Linked DNA regions of Homo sapiens: region 1 is linked to region 2. Evidence: promoter capture Hi-C in 16 types of primary human blood cells and fetal thymus (Javierre and others, 2016). All regions are on one chromosome and are shown on one strand. The core of a region is centred on a gene start or on the middle of the fragment in contact, and the rest is flanking DNA. Distances in the headings are between cores, read along the strand shown. Region 1 overlaps DGKH (diacylglycerol kinase eta). Region 2 holds the start of RGCC (regulator of cell cycle).

The links. The method cuts DNA at HindIII sites, captures the fragments that hold promoters and counts their contacts. A CHiCAGO score of 5 or more calls a contact.
Region 1: a contact is called between a fragment that was not itself captured here and the fragment with the promoter of RGCC in region 2, in 1 of 17 cell types (erythroblasts). The highest score is 5.6, in erythroblasts.

Annotation. Positions count from the first base shown.
Region 1 is chr13:42,114,545-42,119,962 of GRCh38, reverse strand. All of the region lies in intron 1 of DGKH (diacylglycerol kinase eta), which reads right to left. Among named protein-coding and RNA genes, the nearest start is that of DGKH, 69 kb to the right of the region's middle. The HindIII fragment of the contact is 4,715 bases long and covers 1-4,367 here.
Region 2 is chr13:41,455,982-41,461,157 of GRCh38, reverse strand. It overlaps RGCC (regulator of cell cycle), which reads right to left and starts at 3,608. Exons shown (of 5, transcript NM_014059.3): 1 at 3,402-3,608; 2 at 2,688-2,873. The coding sequence starts at 3,450. RefSeq lists enhancers at 2,566-2,695, 2,745-3,422 and a silencer at 2,996-3,835. The HindIII fragment of the contact is 26,753 bases long and covers 1-5,176 here.

The sequences.
Region 1 (5,418 bases), core at 761-3,260, 660 kb before region 2:
AAAGTTTGTATTATCAGTATTTAAGAGAGTTATTCTTCAAAAAAATAACATTGATTCAGCATTTATGATTAAAAAGAGAATGTGCAAAAAATAAGAGGTATAAAAATCAAGACTTGATAGTATGTTAAATAATCATTAACTTGATGAGAAAGGAATATGAAGTATTCATTTAAAAACATACAGATTACATGGCAAAACAATGTGAATATACTTAAAGCTACTGAAATGCACATTTAGAAATGATTAAGATAGTAAATTCTGTTATAAAATTTTTGTTATAAAATTTTTACCATAATGTAAATAATTTTTTTAAAAAGAAGAGATTACAACACTCTTAAATATCCCAGAAAGTCCTTGGGATAAGAGCTAAAAACTTTTAAGAGGATAATGTAGCTTCTAGTCTAACAAAGTTAGTGAGAGAAGGAGAAAGAAACTACACTGAATGTCATGGAAGAGCCATCTCACCGTGTTCAGAACTGAAGACTTATGGCCTAGCACTGACCACAGGACTGCTTTTTGGACCAGAGTGCAGATGACCAGTAACACCATGGGAAGCCACCTCGGCTAAGAGGAGCGTCTCTGAACTTTGTCATGTGACATCATGCTAGTCTTTTGTTACTCTAAATCCATTCCTCTTCTTTCAGATGCTTGCTCAGATTCATTCACATACAAATTCTTTATTTCTTTTCCTGAAAATGCCTAAAATATGCAGTCCAGTCATGCCCATTCAATACAGTCCTATTTCAAGATGCTTTGAGGAGAAATACGGGAAGCCTGCAGCCACTGCCAAGGGGGATTCCGGAGAGTTATATGATGAGCTGCATCACCGTAGCATCTGGTGTCACCCAAGGTAGGCAGCCCATAATTCCTAAACCCAAACACAGAACATTAAAGTGCTATAAAAATACATCTTGGCCAAAGAATAAATCATTTGGAAATTCAAATGGCAGAAGTGGGTGTATTCGGATTTTTGTAAAGTTCTGTTTAAGGCAATGGGGAAGAAAAGTTAATGTTTGGTCTATTTATGTTCTAAAAGTACTGTTTTAAGGAAATGTAAATAACCTACTTCATTCTCCCATGGTTTTGCGTGTAATTTTCTAAAATGAAAATCTAGTTAAATTACGCCACCGCTTCAAGCCCTTCATTAGTTCTCTTCTGCCTGCTACATAAAGTCCAAGCTCCTACATGTACCATAGAAGGCCCCTACACAGCCCTCCAAATGCGTGGCCTACCCCTCCTAAGCTCCTTCCTCTGCCCTAAATATCCTCTGCTCCACTTGTCTGTCTTGAAATCTATTCATCTCAACATTCATCCAGCACCATTAGCCCTGGGAAGGCGTCCTTGACCCCGTAGGGGTAGGAAGAAGCCACCACTCCCACCTTCGGGTCTCTAATACATCCTTATCCTGTCTGTGTAACAGCACCTATGACACTGAACAGTGTCCATCCACATATTTATGGTCCCACCAGGTCGCGGCCTTTAAGAGGGCAAAGACAGCAACCTACCCATTTTTGTAACATCACCATCCATGGCATTAGGTAACACATCATAGGGCCTCCATAAATAAATGTTGGTTGAGTTGACCTAAACAACTTTTACCAACAGTATACAATGGTATGTAAGGTAACTGTGTATTTTAAAACAAAGACAAAAAATTAGAAAACGGGAAAGCGCTGGGCCCCTGATTGAGGGGAAATGGTATCAATGAGTAAACAAGAAACACAGGCTGGAAATGCTTTTTTTTTTGAGACGGAGTCTCTCTCTCTTGCCCAGGCTGGAGTGCAGTGGTGCGACCTGGGCTCACTGCAAGCTCCGCCTCCCGGGTTCATGCCATTCTCCTGCCTCAGCCTCCCGAGTAGCTGGGACTACAGGCGCCCGCCAACACGCCCGGCTAATTTTTTGTCTTTTTGGTAGAGACGGGGTTTCACCATGTTAGCCAAGATGGTCTCCATCTCCTGACCTCGTGATCCGCCTGTCTCGGCCTCCCAAAGTGCTGGGATTACAGGTGTGAGCCACCACGCCTGGCCGGAAATGCCTTTATGGTTTCCAGGGTTCAGCAGATTTCAGGCTGTTTCTTTTCACGTGTATGAAAATGGACACAACGCTCAAAGGTATACCTCTGGAGGGGCAGAAAATGTCTATCCTGATTTTTTATGAGAATATTGTGCATTTAGAGATGTTCCTTATAGAGTCATTTTCAAAGCAAATAATTTATGTTTTTTCTATAGAATTATTACATTCTTCAAATCTTACATAAGCATGTATTAATCTCCTGTGATGTGTGAGGCTGTGGTGTATATATAAAGATGTATAAAATATAGTCCTTGCCTTCACGAAGCTACAAACCTCTCTATGTTACAATATACAAACAGCTAATTTTAAATTCTTGAAGAAAAAAAAGAAAAGGAAAAAACATTCTTGCCTTCCTCTAAAAGATATGATTAAAAAGATTTAGCTGGGAGGCAGTTATTCACGTGAAAGTTAATCCTCAAAATAAACTTCTGTTTATGTACGGCTAAACAGACGCTTCTCATAAAAGAACAAGCATAACCAAAAAGTGATTAATTTGTAACAGCTCTAGCAAATATAATCATACAATCAAAGTGTGGTTAAGAAAAAAGCAAGTGGCTCCAAATATTTCAAAATAATGAGTATACCAAGTGAAGAAACAAAGATTCATTTTTTAAAAATCATGCTATTATATTCGATATTAATGTTCAACCAAAATAACAAAGTTAGTAACAAATATAAGAAATAGTTATAATCAGAGTTATGGTTAAGAATCTGTTAAAAGCAAGTATGTTTTAGTTTTACTTTGTTCACAAATTCTAGGATGAGGCATTAACTCCCCCCTCCTCCCAAAAAGGGCTTAGAAACATTTGTATTAACTGCCATTTAGTCATATAATCTGGCAGTTAATGGTTTAGTACTACCTGACCCTCATGGAAAATCAGTAAAGCCATATAGACTCCAACTGGAATCCAATAACCTAGTTTAAAAAAATTAAAAGCAAAAAGATCAATGAACCTGACTTTGAAAAATCGTTTTCCAAAAATAAAAGCATTACAAGTTGAATAAATTTTTATATAGCTGGCTTTCTGTAACTGTTTTTAGTCCAATGTCTTAAAGCTGCAGAATTGCTCATTTCATGCCCTTTGCTTAAAGAAAATAAAAGTAATTTCTCTTTTAAATTATATACACACATGGATGCTCCAGGATGTCACCTAAATTTTCAGAAACGCCTCTGTGTCACAAGTGGAAGCTCCTTAGATGGAAAACCACTTTAATGCCCCAAGGAGAATGCAACTTTAAAAACAGCCCTTCGATGAGCCTTTTGTAAAGCTAAGAATCCTTGAAAAATCAGGCACTGCCTGATTTATCCAGTAGGTATACACTTTCATATGCGATGCTGGCTTTTAGAGGAGTGTTAAACAGGTGTGTAAAGTGCAAAGGTCAGTGAGGATGCATGTCTTTTACAGATGCCTTCAAGAATTCCAGAAGAACCTCTAGCTTCTACCAGTCATGTCCCAGCATGACCTCCACTTCTCATCTAAGGAATGGAATTTGGCGTCATGGGAGAGATGGATCAGGGGAGATTTCAACACTCTACATTTTATTTGTGTCACTTCTTTCCTGTCTCTTCTAACTACTATCTATTGTGTCCTCTCAAACAATTTTTCTTTGGCCTATATATTTCCTTATTCATTTGTCATATAAATTCCAGGAAAGCTGTGTTAGGCTTTCTTGGGTGTCTGTACAAAACCTGTAACATCATGAATCTATCTGACTATCTTTAATGGTCAAACTAAGCCTCTATAGTTAACAGACTTACACCTCTGAAATGGAAATAATGCCTGCATATCACTATGTGCTATGATGATATGTGAGGCAATGGATTCAAAATAATATATAATTCTTTAAAAACATGGCATGTCAAGATATTATCATCATAACAGTCCTCATCCTAAGCATTATTTATTATGGAAAAGTTTTTGTTCCTTAAATCCATCCCTTTCCACTCCTCTTGCTATTGCCTTAGTTTGGGCTCCTCTAATTCTCTTGGACTCAATAGTTTACTAGGTGCTCTCCATGCTATCAATTTTTCCCACCACTAGTCCATTCCTTCCACTGTGGACAAAATTATCTCTGAAAAACTGCCAAACTCTGGTTCAATATGTTCAAGGTGTACCCATCACCCGCATAATTCCAGACCTCTTAGCTGGTCATACAAGACTCTTTTGTCCATAAGTGCCCCACCTTCCTTAACAGCCCCATCTTCAGCAATCCTCCTAAGTTCCCCTAATAGTAAAGTAAAAGAGAAGTACTTGGTAATCCCCAAATACACCATGCTTCCCTGTGTCCAAGCTTTTTCACCAGCTCTCCCTTCTACTCAATATCGTCCTCCACTGCCTCTTCTAAACCTCCCACCCCATCCCATCCTCCTTCAAAGCTCTGGCCACTATCACATCCTTGGTATACCCACAGCTCTATGCTCATGCATTATTTATAGCATTAATCATGCTGCATAGGGATTTTTTTTAATGCCTGGGTCTCTCCTATAGGACTGAGTTTCTCAGTGACAAAAACTGTACCTCATTTATTTTTCTATCCCACATATAGCCAAGTATTTGATATGAAGAAAATAATTAATACATGTTAACTAATTTGTTGAAGAATCAGGAAACAAAAAGTAAGAAATTAAACGATTAAAACTTTTTTTCTTTGATAACAACTGGAGGAATTCAGTGGAAAAAGACAATTCGATTTTTCTTTCCAGCAAGTCACTATACTGGCAGGAAGCATAAAACAAAAATAGACCTGACTCCTGTAAAAGAGCCCCAGGCTGGGTTCCACTTCCGCCTCCACCATTTACTAGCTCTGTGACTTCACATAAGTAATCATATCTATGAACCTAAGTTTCCCCATCTGTAAATAAATAAACATCACCTGCCCTGTATTCCTCAGACTTGTCAGGAAGAAACAAAATGATAAGCAAATATCTCCTGTAAACTCCGAAATGCTATGAAGTATCAGAAGTAAGGTACTATTTGAGTAGGTCACACTTTGGGGAAAAAGGTGTTTTTAGTGGGACTGATACAAAGTACATAAAGAGACAATCCTGGACAAGGGCCTAATGCTTCTATTTGGATAAATTATTGCACAAAACCCTAATTTAACCACATAAAGAAAATGTCTAAAGTTTTCTAAATCTTAAGCATAAAAGCAAAAATCAATCATGAAATTTTATTTAATATAATAATGGAGCATGGTTTATAACAAGCTATGTATATTATTTTACTTCTTAGAACACCGATCTTATCTTGTTTACCAGTGAAAATTAGGAAATGATTAGAATTGCTGCTGGATAACTCCACTTGGATGCCACTGGCTCTTCAAAATTCAATAAGCCCCAAACTA
Region 2 (5,176 bases), core at 2,359-4,858:
GAAGTTATACTGCAATTGTTATTTTGGTCCTCTTCATGTCTTAAGAGGCCTCCCTGAAAGTGGGAACAGGAAGGAATATTTCCTTATTAAATATCTGTTCTTCTTTCCTATCTGAGTAACTTGTTTCTTTCAGTACGAGGAATGGCTATTTTTTGCCTTTGGGTGCAAGCAACCTAAATTTTTTTTAATGATAATAAAGAAGTATTCTTCAAAGAACAGGCTTGCTGTTTGATCTTCCTTGTAAGGTTGGTGCACCTTCAGACAGAGCTGTAAAAACTAGAGCAAAAAACAAAGGTAACATTGGTTTACATATTCATCCAAAATATTTTCATGCGAGACACTGGCTCCAATGTATCTATATGGTATAGCACAGCATGTACATTGTAATGATATTTTGAAAGTATTCAACAGAGCAAATATTTTCTCCCTAATAGCACTATTAAATAGCATCCTTTCAATTTCACAGCTAGAGAAACTAAATCCCACTCATCACCCAGGGCCTTGACAAGGCTCAATCTAAGCTCTACTGACCCTGCCAGATGACCACCACCTCAAAGAGACACCTTCATAAACAGCCATCATTGACAAACAGGCATGTGATCTGGGCTCAAAAGGACTTCAGTCTATTCGTGAAGACATGGTTCCCATTCCAGCTAATAAATCATCATCATCATCATAACAAGCGTTTGCTAAAAGTGAGCTGCTGTTATTATCCTTATCCTGGTGTGTCTCCCTCTTGATGAGCTAAATTTCAGTAGTATCTACCTCTCTTAAGCATTCTCTCCCATAGAAAAGCATTAAACAGACAAACGAGGATAACAAATGTCTGTACTCAATTCTTGGCAGCAATTAAGATATACATATTATGCTTCCTTAAGAAATTACTATTTAGATACACACAGCTTCTGCCAACAATATTTCTGACTAGCCTTGTGAGAGAAAAACTACACATTTAAAGCAAAGACAAATGTCATCTGAGCTTTCTTTATGTTCTTCCCATCACTTCTCTAACCACCAAACTAAGGGTTAGTCCGTTAACAACAAAAGCAGAAAACAGACACATATAACCTAAGCAAAACTACAAACTATCCCAACTATCTCCCCTGAAACTGTTAAGAATGTGTTTCTATGTCTTCTCTTTAAGGCATCTGAAAACAGATTCTAGATCTGAAATCCCACCCAGTGGAAGTTGCAATCAGCCATGAATGGGCGCGCTCAGACCTATTCTAGTAGAGTGAGGCTGTTGCTTAGAAAGGAGCTGTTCTTTGCCACAGAGCAGCAGCGACACACTATCCTAGCTTTCTTTTCCATGCGAGAATCTGTATTTGATGAATAACTTGCTCCATGCCCCAGTAGGAGGAGACATATTTAAGTTTGGCCTTTAGAATTGAGACAAATTTCAAAAATGTTAACACTTTGCTTTGAAATTGAAAATGAACCTATTCATTAAGAACAAAGTCCAAAAATTCTAAGTGGAAAAGTAACAGTACTTTCTTCCATCCCCTTTCACCTCAAAAGCTGCAGCTTGGTCTAACTCTTTGGCAGTGCTGCCAAGGAAACAAGCTGGAACTCAGCTTCCTGAGTCAAACCCTGACCAGGGTGGTGAGCGCATTTATCCCTTTGCAGAAGGGCAGCTCATGTTCATGTCTAGCCCCGAATCTTAGCCCAGGAACAAGGAAGAGCTCCAGGTTTCAAAATAAGAGAATCACACGGAAAGGCCATTACTTTCACGTCCTGAGTCAAGGGCAGCAAAAGGAGTGACATTCATGCCTGTAACCCATCTAAGGATTAAAGGCTGAAGAATAACACAGAAGAGTTTAAAATTGACTTTGCCCTTTGAAAAACAATAAGCAATTCTGGATTTGAAACCAACAATCATGTAATATTAAAAAGGCACCTAATTTGCTGTTTGAGGTACCTGTAATCCTCCCAGGACATGTGAGTTCCTGGAAAAAGCTGTCTCTTTTGTTGTTTTTGTTGTTGTTGCTGTTGTTGACAAAGTTGTTCAGGACAAAGAGACCCTGGGGTAGTCTCCATTGTGAGAAAGATCACCAGGAACCACCTTCATGCCCATGTGCTCTCTGGCTCCCCCTCCAGCCTGGTGGAGGACCTGGCTGAAAAATACTTGAACTCAGCAGTGCCAAAGATTTTCATAACTGCATGCAATGGAGCAACAAGTCTGAGAGCTAAGGGCCAGAAGACAATGCAAGCAGTTATTTCATAAATCCCAAGAACAGCAGTTTGGGCTTATGAAACCTTTCCTGGTTTCATGAATATTTCCGTTCTGCGCCCTCCCATGTCCCCACTGTGCCCCCTCATTCCACTGGCACTTGTTCCACATCTGCAAAGTTACAGCTGAGAGGGGAGAGGCACGGAAAGGAGAAGAGGAGGGAAACTGCGGAAAGGCCTGGTGCAGGTCCAGGGAGTCCTGTCTGGCTGAGTCGGGACAAGCTGCTTAAACTCGCCTGCCTGGTGACACACCCGTGGGCGGCAAGTGAACCAACCTGCCCTCCAGCGACCTTTCCCGTGATTATCGTCAGGGGCCCCGCCACCACTCGGCCTACTGCGTTGAGCTTCAGGAAACCATTCCTCAGTTTACTGATAAGAAAACTGAGGCCGCAGCCTTCGCGGGGCAGGTCCTGGGAGCTGGGAGATCCCGGCGCCATCCTAGCGGGGGCCGCACTTACTCTCCGAGTCGCTGAAGCCGCTGCTGTCGCTGACACTGGCGCTGCTGCGCCGCTTCATGCGCTCCAGGTGCTCCTCGTAGTGGAAGTGGCGCTCGTGGAAGGGCGACGCGAAGTCGGCCAGCACCGCGTCAAACTCGCACAGCGCGTCCGACAGGTCCTCCGCGGCCGCCGAGTCCAGGGCCGGGGCTGCGGGCAGGGCCAGGGGCTCAGTGCACGGAAGTCAGGGGGGCAGCGGGACCACCTCCCAGGGCCAGGAGGGGCCGCCACGGTTCCCGAAGATAACTGACACTTGGCGCCTCTGCCAAGTGACAGCCACGCAGTCGCTGTTACCTTGTAATCTTCTCCACCACCCCCGAAGTGCGTTCTATTACCAAGTCCGTTTTACAGACAAGAAAACTGAGCCTTCGCCAGGCCCAGGGTCACCCAGCGACTTGGCGCGGCCAGATTCCTCCCCAGGCGCTGCCGGTTACCTGTCCCCGCCGCTCCCCCCAACCCCGGGCGCGCGCGGAGCTGGTGGTGGAGGGAAGGTGGGACATGGGGGCCAGCCCGGGCCGGAAAGGAGGCTGCAGCCGCCCGCGCGGGAAGACCGGGGACAGGTTCCCGCCGGGGAGGATGGAAGGGTGGGGGGTGTGAAGGGACGACACGGGGCCCCTCCTTTCTCACCCGCCATCTGCAGAGCCGAGACTTTAAGGGGACCCCGGACCCCGCACTCACCTGCGGCCGCGGCGGCCGCGGGGCTGCCCTGCGCCGCGGGCGGCTTCATGAGGCGGCTCAGCTGGGCCCGGCGCGCGTGGCCTTGGGTCCTGCGAGGTGGCAGCCGGGGCTATTCGGGGGCTTGCTGTCCCGCACACTTCAGCCCTGCCAGTCCCTTCGGCGCTGCGCTCCAGCCGCGCCGCTCCCAGCACGGTCCGCGCCCGCCCTACCACCGGCTCGGGTTCCTAGATCTTATAGCCTTCGGCGGCCGGAGCGGAGGCGGGGCCGGGGCGGGGCTGCGGAGCCGGGGCGACGGGTCTGTCCCCGCCGCCCTCCGAGGAGGCCCCTGCCCCCAGGCACCGCCCTCGCCACGCGCCCGCCCTGGAACCGCGGTGACGAGGAGTCGCCGAAGCCCCGGTTACAGCCCCAAATATTTACCCGCCTCTCGCCCCCGCGCCCTGACAACCCGGCCCACGCGGTGTCCTCGGCGTCACCAGAGCTGACTGCTGGGCGCGAGCTCTGCTGCTTCCCGCCGCGTGCCAGGCACCTCCGCGAGCCGCAGCTTCCTCGGCTGTGAAGTGGACGTGGGCATGCAGAGCCTCCCTGGCTGGCGGTGAGGGACGAAGGAGCCCGCGGCCGTGTCCCAGTCGGGTGTCGGGGACGCGGAGGTCCCCTACGCATTGTCCCAAGGGGACTTCCGAGATGGTGGGCGGGCGGAGTGGAGAGGGTCGGGGCGAGAGGGGCAGGAGTTGGGGGAGTCCTGAACTGTTCCCACCGCGGAGCGCGGGGGCCTGAACTACGGTCCAGGGCGCTCCCGCCAGCCTGACTTTATCTAGAAGGGGTTTATTATGGGAAGAAACTACTGCGTCGACGCAGCGCGAACAGGGCGCCTTGCAGTGTCCACGGAGTAACGAGCCACCCTGCCCCGCGGCCTGCGGGGGCGAACGCCCTGGACTGTGCGCTGAGCTAGGCGCTAGCCTCTCGCCTCTCACCACAGACGGCTAATTAAATGTAGAGCAATTAACATGTAACGGAGTGAAACATTCAGCCTCCACTCCCAGCTAGTTTTTGTATTTTTAGCAGAGACGGGGTTTGTCCATGTTGGCCAGGCTGGTCTCGAACTCCCGACCTCAGGTGATCTGCCCACCTCAGCCTCCCAAAGTGCTGGGATTACAGGCGTGAGCCACCGCACCCAGCCAGGATTTGTTTTCAGAATATAGAAAGACCCATCTACAAAGTAATCACAAATAGACAACCTGGTAAAAATTAAAAATGAGCAAAACATTGAAACATACACCTCACAAAGGAGTATATGTTAATGACCACTAATCATATGAATAGTCCTCCTCTCTTGTCTACTCTGGGTGGCCTAGGGATATGCTTGTCTTGTGGAGGCACAAGCACTGTGGGCTCAAGAGTGGGGAGCCTCTTTCCCTGTTAAGGGGAGGACACCACTGGGATCTCTGGTGCCATCTCCTGCAATGGATCCTCTGATGTGGGGTCGAACAGAACTTCAGGAGTTGATTTCCCTGGGTGAGTGGAGCGGGATCCTTCCTTAGCTATCTGTCCCTTTGCTACTAGTATTGCTGCTGCATGCCCTCAGCCACTGTGGGGGTTCTAGCACCAGCTGTCACCAAGTGTCTATGTATGGGAACTGGTCTAGGTATCTTTACCAGTTACCTTGTGCCACGCCTTAGAAACAAGGGACCTGTCCAGGCTTCCTTCTGATGGCCAACCCACTTCTAATGGTGCGCAATCTATTTCCCACAAGGTTCTAAGTTCCCCTGGTGGTCTAG